Regions from separate parts of the Homo sapiens genome. Here region 2 is linked to region 1. Evidence: promoter capture Hi-C in 16 types of primary human blood cells and fetal thymus (Javierre and others, 2016). All regions are on one chromosome and are shown on one strand. The core of a region is centred on a gene start or on the middle of the fragment in contact, and the rest is flanking DNA. Distances in the headings are between cores, read along the strand shown.

Region 1 (6,462 bases), core at 1,145-3,644:
CATTTCCTCATAAAGTGTCTTCCAGTAGGACCTCTAGACTTATTTCCACTTTCTCCTCCAAGCCCTGGGCTTTGGGAGACTAACTGTATGGTTCTGACCAATATGCTACCCAGACCTCCACCTTCTGGAAGGATTCAGCCAGTGGAAACCCCATGCAGGAGACTGGAGGAAAGGAGGAAAATGAGATGGGGTATTTATTCCCCAGTTTCCCTTTCATTGGCTGTTAGCAGCATCTCTCCAGACCAGGGATCCCTCTCTCTGCAGCTATAGCAATTGCTTCCCATGCCCCTTCAGGGTTATAAGTGATCCTTACTAGACCTGGATGGAGGCACTACTTTTTTAGTTTTCTGTATCCTGCCCTTAATTTGCAAATAATTTCTTTAAGAAACCCTCCTCCAATTATCCCATGTGAGTAAGCTACTTGTTTCCTGTCTTGACCTTAGCAGAACCCAATATTTTCACTACACAGCACAAAGTTTATGGCCATAATATCCAAAAGAATTGATGTAACTTAAATGCAAGTTTCTCCATGTCACACCTCATTAACATGCTTCCAACAGCATAAGGTTAATTCTCAGTTTCTCAATTTGCAAGAGGAGGCCCTCCTCAATCAGGCAACTGCCAGGCATGCATCTTTGGTCATATATGTATTCCCAGTCTCCATGGCATCAAACTACTTATTGCCCCTTGTGTCTTCACACTAGTGGAGACCTACCCTCTCCCAACAGTACCTGAACTGCCCTGTTCCCATGTCCCTCCCCTCTGGCTAACAGCTGATCATGATGAGTGAGAGCAAGAGGAATAAATGTGCCTGCATATGACAAGTGTCATGCGGCTCAGTGTCCTGCTACTTGCATCCTCTCTCTGCAGACAGGTCTTTTACACTTACCTGTTCAGAGACCTCTCCCGTGATGGCACCAGAGTTTGTAACAGTTTATTATGTTAATTTTTCCCAAATTTTTATTATAAAAATATTCAGAATAAAACATAACAAAAGATGGGTTTATCAGTCATCCACTACCTACATTCAATAGAGTGGATTTTACCACCATCCGAAAGTAAATGACAGACTCATGAGAATTTACACCTACACACTTCAGCATCTAACCCCTAACAATAAGGGAAATTCCATGTAATCTCAATATATCAAACCTTTCTTTAAAAACTTACTAAAATGACCTGTTATCCAGTTCACGTTCAAGTTTCCTTGATTATCTCCAAAATGCCCTTTAAAACTTTAGAGACAGAATGCAATTAATACATTTAGTTGCTATGTTACTTTAATCTCCTTCAAACTTAAAGTCCTCCAGTTTTTCTCGGTGGCTTTTTGAACAAAGCAATTGTCCCAAATGTTCCACATTCTGGAAGGTTTTTTCCCCCTCTTGAGATGTTTAATTGGCTCTTTGACCCCTGTACTTTCATAAACAGTAAATTGAGACACGAATTATTGCAGTTACACCTTATCAAGGTGTTTCTATATTTACGATGGATCACAAGCAAAGGCACGAAACAGGTAAACTTCTTTTAGTGCTGCTAAATTAGATCATTGAACTAGCAAGGGGGCCAGTCCCTCCACTGCAGACACATTTGTCAGAACGGCACCTGGCAAGTTTGTGCTAATTATTGTGTATTCTCTGGTTATTGAAATTGCTTATTAAGCAGAATATAAAAGTCGGGTTATCTTGGCACTAAAACTACAATTTTAATTACGGAGGGTAATCCTAACAGTAAGGAGAAAAACACACTACCATAACCACATTTTGAGAGCTTTTAAGTGACAATGTAGCCGTTGATGTCCTCAGCCAGCCCACCAGATTTCTAATCTCTGAACACACGATTAACTTACCACCTGTATTCCATGTTGTATGTCAGCCTTGGCGTAAATTTATACTTTACAGCATTATACACCTAACAGCTTTTGGGCACCTACAGCAATAAAACACACAATATTGCTGAGTGCGTTAGTTAAGTTTCCACAATGTCAAACGTGAGCCCTTCGGAAGAAAACGTACGCGGCCCTGAAAAGGGCCATTAACGATATTGCAAGGAAAGGCCTGGCCTCACTTAACCGCCAAAGCCTTACAGGGTTCTTCCCTGGCGTTTGAGCACGTAGACCACGGCCATGGCGGTGACCGTCTTGCGCTTGGCGTGCTCCGTGTTGGTCACGGCGTACCAGATCACATTTTCCAGGAACACCTTGAACACCCGGCGGGTCTCCTCATAAATGAGGCCCAAGATGCGCTTGACACCGCCATGCCGGGCCAAGCGCCGGATAGTGCACTTGGTAATGCCCTGAATATTATCGCTCAGTACCTTGCGATGGCACTTGGCACCGCCTTTCCCAAGGCCTTTTCCGGCCTTGCCCCGAACAGACATGATAAACAAGTCAGAACTATCTCTAAACAAAACGATTACTCGCTTTCCGCAGCCTTTTATATAACGGTAGAGTAGACCTTTTTGAAAACTGAAAGACCAGGAAAGGCGGGAAAACGTATTCAGTCCCCGCTCATCTACTTCTAGTAATAACAAGACATAAGAAATTCTCTTGTAGTAGGGAGATTTGCTGGCATTTAGAGAATAAGGATCTCTAAACGAAAGTGTCAAACATGTACCTAGAGGAAAGTATCTCGATTTTTGATGTCTGTATGTGTTTAAAGATTTACTCCTGGCCGGGCGCGGTGGCTCACGCCTGTAATCCCAGCACTTTTGGAGGCCGAGGCGGGCGGATCACGAGCTCAGGAGATCGAGACCATCCTGGCTAACACGGTGAAACCCTGTCTCTAATAAAAATACAAAAAATTAGCAGGGCGAGGTGGCGGGCGCCTGTAGTCCCAGCTATGCAGGAGGCTGAGGCAGAAGAATGGCATGAACCCCGTGGGGTGGAGCCTGCAGTGAGCCGAGATCACGTCACTGCACTCTAGCCTGGGCAAGGGCGAAGCCCGTCTCAAAAAAGAAAAAAAAAAGATTTACTCCTTCCCTGTATATTAGAGCATTTACCATGCTGAAGTTGAAACAAGCCCAAATTCCAAGACATAAAAGAATTCCTAATCATATTGCCAAGCCGCCCAGCTAAAGAGAAGTAGCCTGGTTTTTGGTTTCGAATCTGTGAGTGACTGCTCTCTCACCGATATTAGACATGTTAATCTGAGTTTCAATGGCCCTATCTGTAAAAAGGGTAAATACTTGTTAATAATTGAGTTACTTTAAGCAAAACACTGGCATATAGTTAGTAAATGATTTTTTTTTAAAATACGGAGTTTCGCTCTTGTTGCCCAGGCTGGAGTGCAATGGCGCAATCTCTGCCCACTGCAACCTCCACCTTCTGGGTTCAAGCTATTCTCCTACCTCGGCCTCCCAAGTAGCTGGAATTACAGGTATGTGCCACCACTCCCGGCTCATTTTTGTATTTTAGTAGAGACCAGATTTCACGTTGGCCAGGCTGGTCTCCAACTCCTGCCCTCAGGTGATCCGCCCGCCTTGGCCTCCCAAAGTGCTGGGATTACAGGCGTGAGCCACCTCACCGGCCAGTTGGTAAACGAATTCTTATTGCCACAGCCTTTTTTTACAGACAAAATAATAATGCAGAGGTAAAGCACACCGAAGGATTTTAAAACATTGCCTTTGCAACACCAATACATTCAGTGTGCTTTCACTTATATTAAGCACTATACAATTAAGCAATGAAGAATTGCCCAGAAAAAAGATAATGTAAATTGCCAGAGGCTCCATGCCCTGTTCTCATGTGGAGGACAGAAGGTACAGGGGGTGACTGTCTTCTGGGGTTGATACAACAGGAAACTCAGGGAAAGCTGTCATAAATGTTAATAGGAGAAAAGGGGAATTTGCTCACAAGCCAAAATAAAGACATAAGCACCACTAAATTTTTACATTACAAAATACTTGCTGAGCTAGTTAAACGAGAGCATTTAAGTGGAAATAAATGATGTCTCTAAAATAGAATGTTCAAAATAACAATGGATTTTTTATTGTGCAGTTACGATGCACCAAACAAACAGTCCTAAAGATCATGGGTTTTTGAAGCAGGGTCAGCAATATCTAAAAAATCATGTAACTGCATAAATGAATTATGGCCTAATGAGCAGGTCACCACAACAAAAAGCCAAGAGTGCAAACAACTATTTGTGGGGAAAACAAACAAACAAACTTGATAAACCATGGAATTCCAAGCAATAAAAGCAGCAATCCCATCACAGCCTATTTCTACATTATTTTGAAATAATTAGATTTTTTTTTTTTTTTTTTTTTTTTTTTTTTGAGGCGGGGTCTCACTCTGTAGCCCAGGCTGGAGTGCAGTGGCACGATCCCGGCTCACTGCAACCTCCACCTCCCAGGTTCAAGTGATTCTTCTGCCTCAGCCTCCCTAGTCGCTGGGATTACAGTTGCCTGCTACCACGTCCGGCTAATTTTTTGTATTTATAGTAGACAGGGTTTCTCCATGTTGGCCAGGCTGATTAAATTACTAGAATAACAAGAAATTGCGCTGGGCACGGTGGATTACGCCTGTAATCCTAGCACTTTGGGAGGCCAAGGAGTCACATCACCTGAGGTCAGGAGTTCCAGACCAATCATAGCCAACATGGTGAAACCCCCGTCTCTACTAAAGCTACAAAATTAGCCGGGCGTGGTGGCACACGCCTGTGATCCCAGCTACTCGGGAGGCTGAGGCAGGAGAATCGCTTGAACCCGGGAGGCGGAGGTCCCAGTGAGCCGGGATCCCGCATTGCGCCACTGCACTCCATCCTGGCTGACAAGAGCGAAACTCCGCCTAAAAAAAAAAAAAAGTTGCAATAATATTTCCTTGAACCCCGTTTTCCCTGAGCATAGTGTACAGCTTCACCTGCACCTCGGGGTTTTAATTGGAAGGCTCCCATGCCAAGTAAAATTTGTATTATATTAACTTGTATCCGTTTCTCCTGTTGATGTCTCAAATGAACTCTCAGGGCAAGCCAAAAAGAATAATAATGATTTAACTCCCCATACTGTCACAAATAAAGCTTTCGTACACTTTTGTCAACAAGTTGTTTCCTTTGTCCCTGTAGTTTTGGTTTTGCCTCAGCACACAACCATTTTCTGTTTTGTTGTTTTGAGACAGGGTTTCGCTGTCACCCATGGAGGAGTGGAGTGGCGCGATCTCGGCTTACTTCAACGGCTGCCTCCCAGGTCCAAGCGATTCTCCTTCCTCAGCCCCCGATATAGCTGGGACTGCAGGAGGGCGCCACCACACCCGTATTTTTGTTTTTTGGTTTTGTACTTTTAGTGAAGACGGGTTTTCACTATGTTAGGCAGACTAGTCTCGAATTCCTGACCTTTGTATAAGTAACCCGCCCTCCTCGGGCTCCCACAGTACTGGGATTACAAGGCGTGAGCCGCCACTATCGGCCATTTTGAAGACAATGGCCAAGACACAAAAGCCTAGTTTAGAAGAGCCACCGGCCCTGCCCCCATCCCCTAACCCTCCACCCTCCTTGTTTTAGGAGACATTACTCCCTAGTGCTACGGCGCTTTCAACTGAAATTGTTGGTGGCTCTGAAAAGAGCCTTTGGTTTAAGTTGGCGCACACCCTCAGTACAACTTATGCCCTCTCTCCGCGAATGCGGCGAGCGAGCTGGATGTCCTTGGGCATGATAGTCACTCGCTTGGCGTGGATAGCACACAGGTTGGTGTCCTCAAAGAGCCCCACCAGGTAAGCCTCGCAGGCCTCCTGCAGCGCCATCACAGCCGAGCTCTGGAAGCGCAGGTCGGTCTTGAAGTCCTGCGCGATCTCACGTACCAGACGCTGGAATGGTAGCTTGCGAATCAGTAGCTCAGTCGATTTCTGATAGCGGCGGATTTCACGGAGGGCGACAGTACCAGGCCTGTAGCGGTGGGGCTTCTTCACGCCACCGGTGGCTGGCGCGCTTTTGCGAGCCGCCTTAGTGGCCAGCTGCTTGCGCGGGGCTTTGCCGCCAGTGGACTTACGAGCTGTTTGCTTCGTGCGTGCCATAGGAATGGGTTTCAAGCAATGGTCACAACTGAACAAACAGTTGTTCTTACTCCTATTTATAAAGGCAAAGTCCTTCTGATTGGTCCGAATCTTCCAGTTTCGCGCCCTGAATTATGTAGTGTGATAGGACTTGTGATCAGCTACTAGGTCTCATTTTAGAAAATCTTAACCTATCTAAATGCTTTTTTCCCCTAGTTCCTTACATTTTATTATGTTTTATGTGCCTACCTGTATTACGTACCTTCATTGATTTTATTTTAATCAGTTTGTTTGGGATTATGTTTGACAGACGGAAATGAACGTTCTGCAGTTCCGGAGCGATTCAAAAATACCGCGTTTGAGAGTGATTGGTCCAGCTCAATGTCTCCTTTATATTTTTTAAAAAACTCTTACTTTGAAGAAATATTTTATTTTTAATATAAGTACCCTATTTCATATATTCTGAACCTTTCAACAAA
Region 2 (6,462 bases), core at 1,154-3,653, 320 kb after region 1:
ACTCAACATACTGAGTCTCTACAAAAATACAAAAACAAAATAAACCAGCCCATTAGCTGGGCATGATGATATGTGCCTTAATCCCAGCTGCTCAGGTGGCTGAGGGGAGATGATCCCTTGAGCCTAGGAGTTCAAGACTTTAGTGAGCTTTGATCCCACCGCTGCACCCCAGCCTGGACCACTGCACCCCAGCATCAACAACAGAGTGTGACCCTGTCTCGAAAAAAAAAATCCTCTGTAAGGACTATAACTCCATCTAGGAGGCTTTCCTTAATTAATCTCAACCAAATCTGATCTCTTACATAGTCTAAATTCTTGTGTACTTAGCTTTTTTTGTGGTACTGTTTGGGACTTGTTTTAATGATTACATTATTACTCGTATGCTTCCTATGGTGTTATTCTTGAATTTTTTATACTCTAATTTCACTAAAGATAAGGCCCAGCGAAAAGGCTTTCAAAGTACTCTCTGTGGGTTCCCCTGTTTGAGCCTGTGGGAGTAAGGCAGTGGACAGCACACTCTGAGAACTGTGCGTTACAAATTCTATTTAATTTGATATTCACAACTATCCCCTTAGGATCTGTATTACCTTCATTATCATCATCTCCATTTTGTATAAGGCATGAGGAAGTTAGGGAAGTCATACTACTAGTGAGACATAGATTCAAAGGTGGACTAAGTGGCTCCAATACCTCTCTGTGTTCTTTCCATTACATCATACATACGAGTAAATAGCCTGTCCATGTTGCTGTAACTTCTACTACCAAAATTCATTATTTACTTTTAAATTGTGTTCAAAAGGGTCTATGTATACAATTAGTTCAATACATATTTACTTTTTAGGAAGCATTACAGTACAGTTACTGTTGAAACACATGCCACAGAAATTGGTTCTTCACTCACTCCCGAGGGACCCAAGCAGCCTCCACTTGGGGTTCTTCCGGCGTTATCTGGCGCTGCTGCACCACGTCCTCCCCTACACGTGGAGGTCGGTGGTGCGATTTCCTCACCCTCAAGGGACTCAAGGGACCACGCGCTCGCAAAGAACCCAGGGCCTCTTCCATCAGCTCGCAGCAGGTACGCAGTAAACCTTTACCGAATGAATGAATGGAAATCAAATCTGCGAATTAACTGCATGTTAGTTTGCCACATGGGCTGCATTTTAAAATTTTATTTATTTATTTACTTATTTTTATTTATTTTTTTTGAGACGGAGTCTCGCTCCGTCGCCCAGGCTGGAGTGCAGCGGCGCGATCTCGGCTCACTGCAAGCCCCGCCTCCCAGGTTCGCGCCATTTTCCTGTCTCAGCCTCCCGAGTAGCTAGGACTACAGGCGCCCGCCACCATGCCCGGCTGTATTTTTAGTAGAGACGGGGTTTCACCATGTTAGCCGGGATGGTCTCGATCTCCTGACCTCGTGATCCGCCCGCCTCGGCCTCCCAAAGTGCTGGGATTACAGGCGTGAGCCACCGCGCCCGGGGGGAACTTCTTTTAATGGTGCCAATCTTATGGACCTCAGACACCTCTCAGTGAGAACTTGCTGGCATTTTGTGTGGAGAACAGAACCGAGGGGACCAATCTGGACAAGGGGAGCCAATTAGAAAACTGCAGGCCCAGGATTATCTTATTTTCATTCTCTAGAGCAGAGTTTCAATAGAGCGCTATTGACATTTTGGACTAGATATTATAATTCTTTGTTGTGGGGGCTGTTCTATGCATTACAGGATGTTTACTAGCATTCCTGTTCTTTACCTACTACATTCCTCAGTCACAACAATTTACCTACTATATTCCTCAGTCACAACAATTAAAAATGTCTTCTTACATTGTCAGATGACCGTTGTGAAGGCAAAATTGCTCCATTAGAGAAATTACTGCTCCACGAGTATGTACCATTGTTTTGGCTTACTATTTATTTTTGAGACAGGGTCTGGCTCTGTCGCTCAGGCTGCAGTGCAGTGACGTGACACAATCATAGCTCACTGTGGCCTCACACTCTTTGGCTCATGGGATCCTCCCTCCTCAGCCAGTCCCAGTAGCTGGGACTACAGGCCCCCGACCACTACGACCCGCTAATTTTTGTATTTTTTGTAGAAACAGGGTTTCACCATGTTGGCCATGGCTGATCTCGAACTCCTGGTCTCAAGAGACTTAGCTGCCTCAGGCTCCCAAACTGCTGAGATTACAGGCCTGAGCCACCAAGCCCGGCCTAGTTTACTATTTATTGATTAGGGTAGTTTTTCAGCTTTGTAAGGGAACGTCGTGATGTGGTGATGCAAATGAACTTCGTCTGATATTTAGTTATTTTCCGTCCTGTAGAAACAGTACAGTTTTATTGTCCTGTAAGGCAGTTTCCAGTTCTCTACCTCACTTAGCAATGTTAATTTACAGCATTGCTTCTTTCAGTGACTATCAATAAATTCTTCGATCCAGTTTTACCAGTTTTACCATCTTGATGATTCCCTCATTAGTGAATTAAACCTTTGACAAGTGTTTATTTCATATTCGTATATGAATCATGCATTTAACCGTTTGAAAAGTGTATTTTGACCAAATGTATAAAAGTAAATACATCTGTGAAATAGGATAACTTATTCAGGCAATTGAGGTTGGAGAGGAGATAAAACATTACATTTAATTCATCGAGACTCGCCCCACTCAAATAAATGTTTCATGGACTTGAGGAGATTAATGGCCAAGTTAAATGTACTTTCAATTTTTGTTCAGAAAAGAAAAAAAAAATCTGTGTGCCATAAAGGAGTGAACATTGGGCTCAATGGCCTACTTGCACAAGAAGGATCATTTGCCCTGTGCATGTTTCATTATATGACAAGGTAATTATCTTTAATGGAACATGAAAAAGAATGAAACAGATTTTTTTTTCTCTTTTCTTTTTTTTTTTTTTTTTTTTTTTTTTGAGACGGAGTCTTGCTCTGTGGAGTGGCTGGAGTGCGGTGGCAACATATCTGCTCACTGCAACCTCTGCCTCCTAGGTTGCAGTGATTCTCCTGCCTCGGCCTCCCGAGTAGCTGGGATTACAGGCGCCCACCACCACCACGCCCGGCTGATTCTTGTAGTTTTAACAGAGACAGGGGTGTCACCATTTTGGCCAGGTTGGTCTCGAACTCCTGACCTCAGGTGATCTCCCCGTCTCGGCCTGCTGAAGTCCTGGGATTACAGAGGTAAGTCACCGCGCCGGGCCATAATGAAACAGATTTCGGATGCCAGATTCCACCACAAGTGGATTTTTTCATTAACAAGGGAGGATAATAGCTATTCTGAGCTTCAGAGTCATAGAAAGCTAGACAAGAATCTTACACTTTGCAAAACTAATATTTGAAATGATATTACCTTGTGTTAATCATTTAAAAATGTATCATTTTAGCACACCCATGGATAGGTTTTTGCTGAGTTAAGAATTAATGTGATGGCCAGCTGCTGTGGGCTCACGCCTATGATCCTAGGGCTTTAGAAGGCCAAAACGGGCGGATCACTTGAGGCCAAGAGTTCGAGACCAGCCTGGCCAACATGGCAAAAATCACAACTCTACTAAAAATATAAAAATTAGGCGGGCGTGGTGGCTTGCGTTTGTAATCCCAGCTGCTCGAAGGCTGAGGCGGGAGAACGGGAGAATCGCTCGAACCTGGGAAGCGGAGGTTGCAGTGAGCCGATATCGCGCCACTGCACTCCAGCCCAGGCGACAGAGCGAGACTCTGTCTCAAAAAAAAAAAAAAAATTATTATGCTTTCGAAGTTGCATTATTTAGCCTGCTCTTCCTTCTCTTCCTCCTGTCAGTTATCTCAATAAAATCCCATTAAAATTGCATTGTTAAAGTGTTTCAAATTCTATTTTTAGGTAGAGGTTAAAATTGGTTATATAATGCATTCATCACAACAAAAGATGGTCATTGCTAAATTCTTATCAGTTCCTTGTGCCTCCTTAACATTTTATGTTTCTTTTTGTAAACTAGTGAGGGTGGTGCTCCCGTTTTCTCCCTGTTTCAGAGAAAAGGGCCTCTGAATATCAGTCAGTTCCGAAGGGGTAGTGGATGTCAAAAGAACATCAACGACGCAGGTAAACAGGACGACAAGCATCCACGATTGCCCAACCTTCCGCAGAGATGGCATCCCCAGCGGGAAGTGAAAGTCGTGTGAATCCTTCGATAGCTCAGTTGGTAGAGCGGAGGACTGTAGTTGGCTGTGTCCTTAGACATCCTTAGGTCGCTGGTTCGAATCCGGCTCGAAGGAGTTCACAATTTTTTTTTTTTGCGTAAGTTTTAAAATTCATTCTCAGAAATGCGTATTTCACTTATACATATCCTCGATAAGAATCTATTTAAAACTATTCTGGATGTGCAGTGAATCTCTTTAATTTTTTATTATTCTCCGTAACAATTTTTAACACGCGCCATCAAGACTTCATCCCTATAATTCGTATAATCCAACCCTCTTAGAAGCCCTGGGCACTGAGGAAGTGAATCAGACACTGGTCCACTGGGCTAGAGATCCACAGAGGCGTCTCCACCCCTCAACCCCGGATCCACAGCCGGGGGAAAGGGGCGGCTGGTGGGAATTACTCGGAGCAACTGGTAATTGGTGGGGCACGCGCGTGCCCTGGTGTTCAGAGTTCTGAATCGTTGCGAGTCAGTTACAAGCTGAACCACTAGCGTCTGAACCCTATACATCTGAAGCCGGGATGAAATTCAGGAGTTCTATTCCCCCTTCTCCTTTTAATTGTCATGGTGGTGTCTTTCGACCCTAGCAGAGAATATGTGGTCGATATTAGAATCACCTGGGGAGATTTTACAAAGCATCTATGCTTGGGTTTCTTTGGAGGTAAGATTCAGGTATTGTAGTTTCAAAAGCTCACCAGCTGACTTTCCTGTACTGCAAGTTTTGAAAAACACTGGTAGAAGAGAATCATTTTAGGAGAAAATAGTACATAAGGGAAAAAATGGACAGGATTTCCTACCCACATAGGGAATTAGCTCACAAAGTAGAGATCTGGCATAACAGTGGTACATATTTGCTAATTTTGTGCCAATCTAATTACAATATATTAATCCCATTGTACCCTTTTGTGTCTCAAAAATGTGATCCCAGATACCTATGGAAGAGTTCTTAATGACAAATATCTTTGTCTAGATCAAAGTAAGGAAGCGTTTTCTGAGGATTTTGTGCCTGGTAATTTCTTGTATGTTCCTTCCCATGTTTCCAAACTTTTATTCTTTATGAAAATAATTCTCAAACTTGGATATCAGAACCACCTGGAAAACTAACAAAAAACACAGAAGCCCAGGCTTATTGAATTAGGGTGGTGGTTGGAGAGCCCTGCCCAAAACGCATTGGAAGCCACTCCTATTAAGGGCTGGAGATGGATCTAAACTGATAGCTCCCCCATGAACTTGCTTTTTGAAAGCTGGTTGGGGGCAAAAGAAAAATGGCCTTTTGTTTGTGGTTTTTTGAGACGGAGTCTCGCTCTGTCGCCCAGCCTGGAGTGCAGTGGCTCCATCTCAGCTCACTGCAACCTCCACCTTCCGGATTCGAGAGATTCTCCCGCCTCAGTCTCCCGAGTAGCTAGGATTACAGGCGTCCGCCACCACGCCGGGCTAATTTTTGTGTTTGTGGTAGAAACGGGGTTTCACCATGTTGGCCAGGCTGGTCTGGAACTCCTGACTTCAGTTGATCCACCAACCTCGGCCTCCCAAAGTGCTGGAATTTCAGGCGCAAGCCACCGCACCCAGCCAGAAAACAAAACAAAACAAAACAAAACAAATAGGTATTTTCAAAGGTAATGTTTGGGGCTTGAATGCAACATTTGTTAAATAGTCCTGGACTAAGCTTCTTGCCAAGGCACAATAGATTTCAGTCCAGATAGATTCTCTGTCACAATTCTCCTCCTATGTGCCAGCACCAGTAACAGCAGCAGACCCCCCCACCCCACCCTCCGGCAAGATATAGCAAGATGACTTCAGAAGAGGAAGAGTGAACGTCAAAACAAAACAAAACAAAAACCCTCAAACATACCTACATACCCTTTGGCTCTCCATCATTTTATTTTTATATATTTTATTTATTTTTTTCGAGACGGAGTTTCGCTCTTGTTGCCCAGGCTGGAGTGCAGTGGCCCGATCTCGGCTCACTGCAACCTCCGCCTTCCGGTTTCAAGCCATTCTCCTGCCTCAGCCTCCGGAGTAGCTGGGATTACAGGCATGCGCAACCACGTCGGGCCAATTTTTGTGTTTTTAGTAAAGACGAGGTTTCACCATGTTGGCCAGGCTGGTCTCGAACTCCTGACCTCGTGATCAGCCTGCCTCGGCCTCCCAAAGTGCTCGGATTACAGACGGGAACCACCACGCCTGGCCCATCCACCATATTATTGAGATAATGGGAGTGCCTTTGTTACAATTGTAACAACTTAAGGTGGTCCTCAATAGGTCGGACATGTAGGAAATAGATTCCAAGA

Evidence for each region. The method cuts DNA at HindIII sites, captures the fragments that hold promoters and counts their contacts. A CHiCAGO score of 5 or more calls a contact.
Region 2: a contact is called between a fragment that was not itself captured here and the fragment with the promoter of H4C7 in region 1, in 11 of 17 cell types (total CD4 T cells, naive CD8 T cells, activated CD4 T cells and 8 more). The highest score is 8.7, in total CD4 T cells.

Annotation. Positions count from the first base shown.
Region 1 is chr6:26,244,602-26,251,063 of GRCh38, forward strand. It overlaps H4C7 (H4 clustered histone 7), which reads right to left and starts at 2,395. Exons shown (of 1, transcript NM_003547.3): 1 at 2,010-2,395. The coding sequence starts at 2,376. The coding sequence ends at 2,080. It overlaps H3C7 (H3 clustered histone 7), which reads right to left and starts at 6,034. Exons shown (of 1, transcript NM_021018.3): 1 at 5,541-6,034. The coding sequence starts at 6,004. The coding sequence ends at 5,594. RefSeq lists enhancers at 4,867-4,946, 5,087-5,456, 5,757-5,916. The HindIII fragment of the contact is 5,476 bases long and covers 1-5,013 here.
Region 2 is chr6:26,564,705-26,571,166 of GRCh38, forward strand. It overlaps TRY-GTA1-1 (tRNA-Tyr (anticodon GTA) 1-1), which reads left to right and starts at 4,154; the gene lies at 4,154-4,244. It overlaps LOC105374988 (a long non-coding RNA gene), which reads left to right and starts at 4,620. Exons shown (of 2, transcript NR_134611.1): 1 at 4,620-4,832. RefSeq lists an enhancer at 4,696-4,825. The HindIII fragment of the contact is 6,863 bases long and covers 1-5,835 here.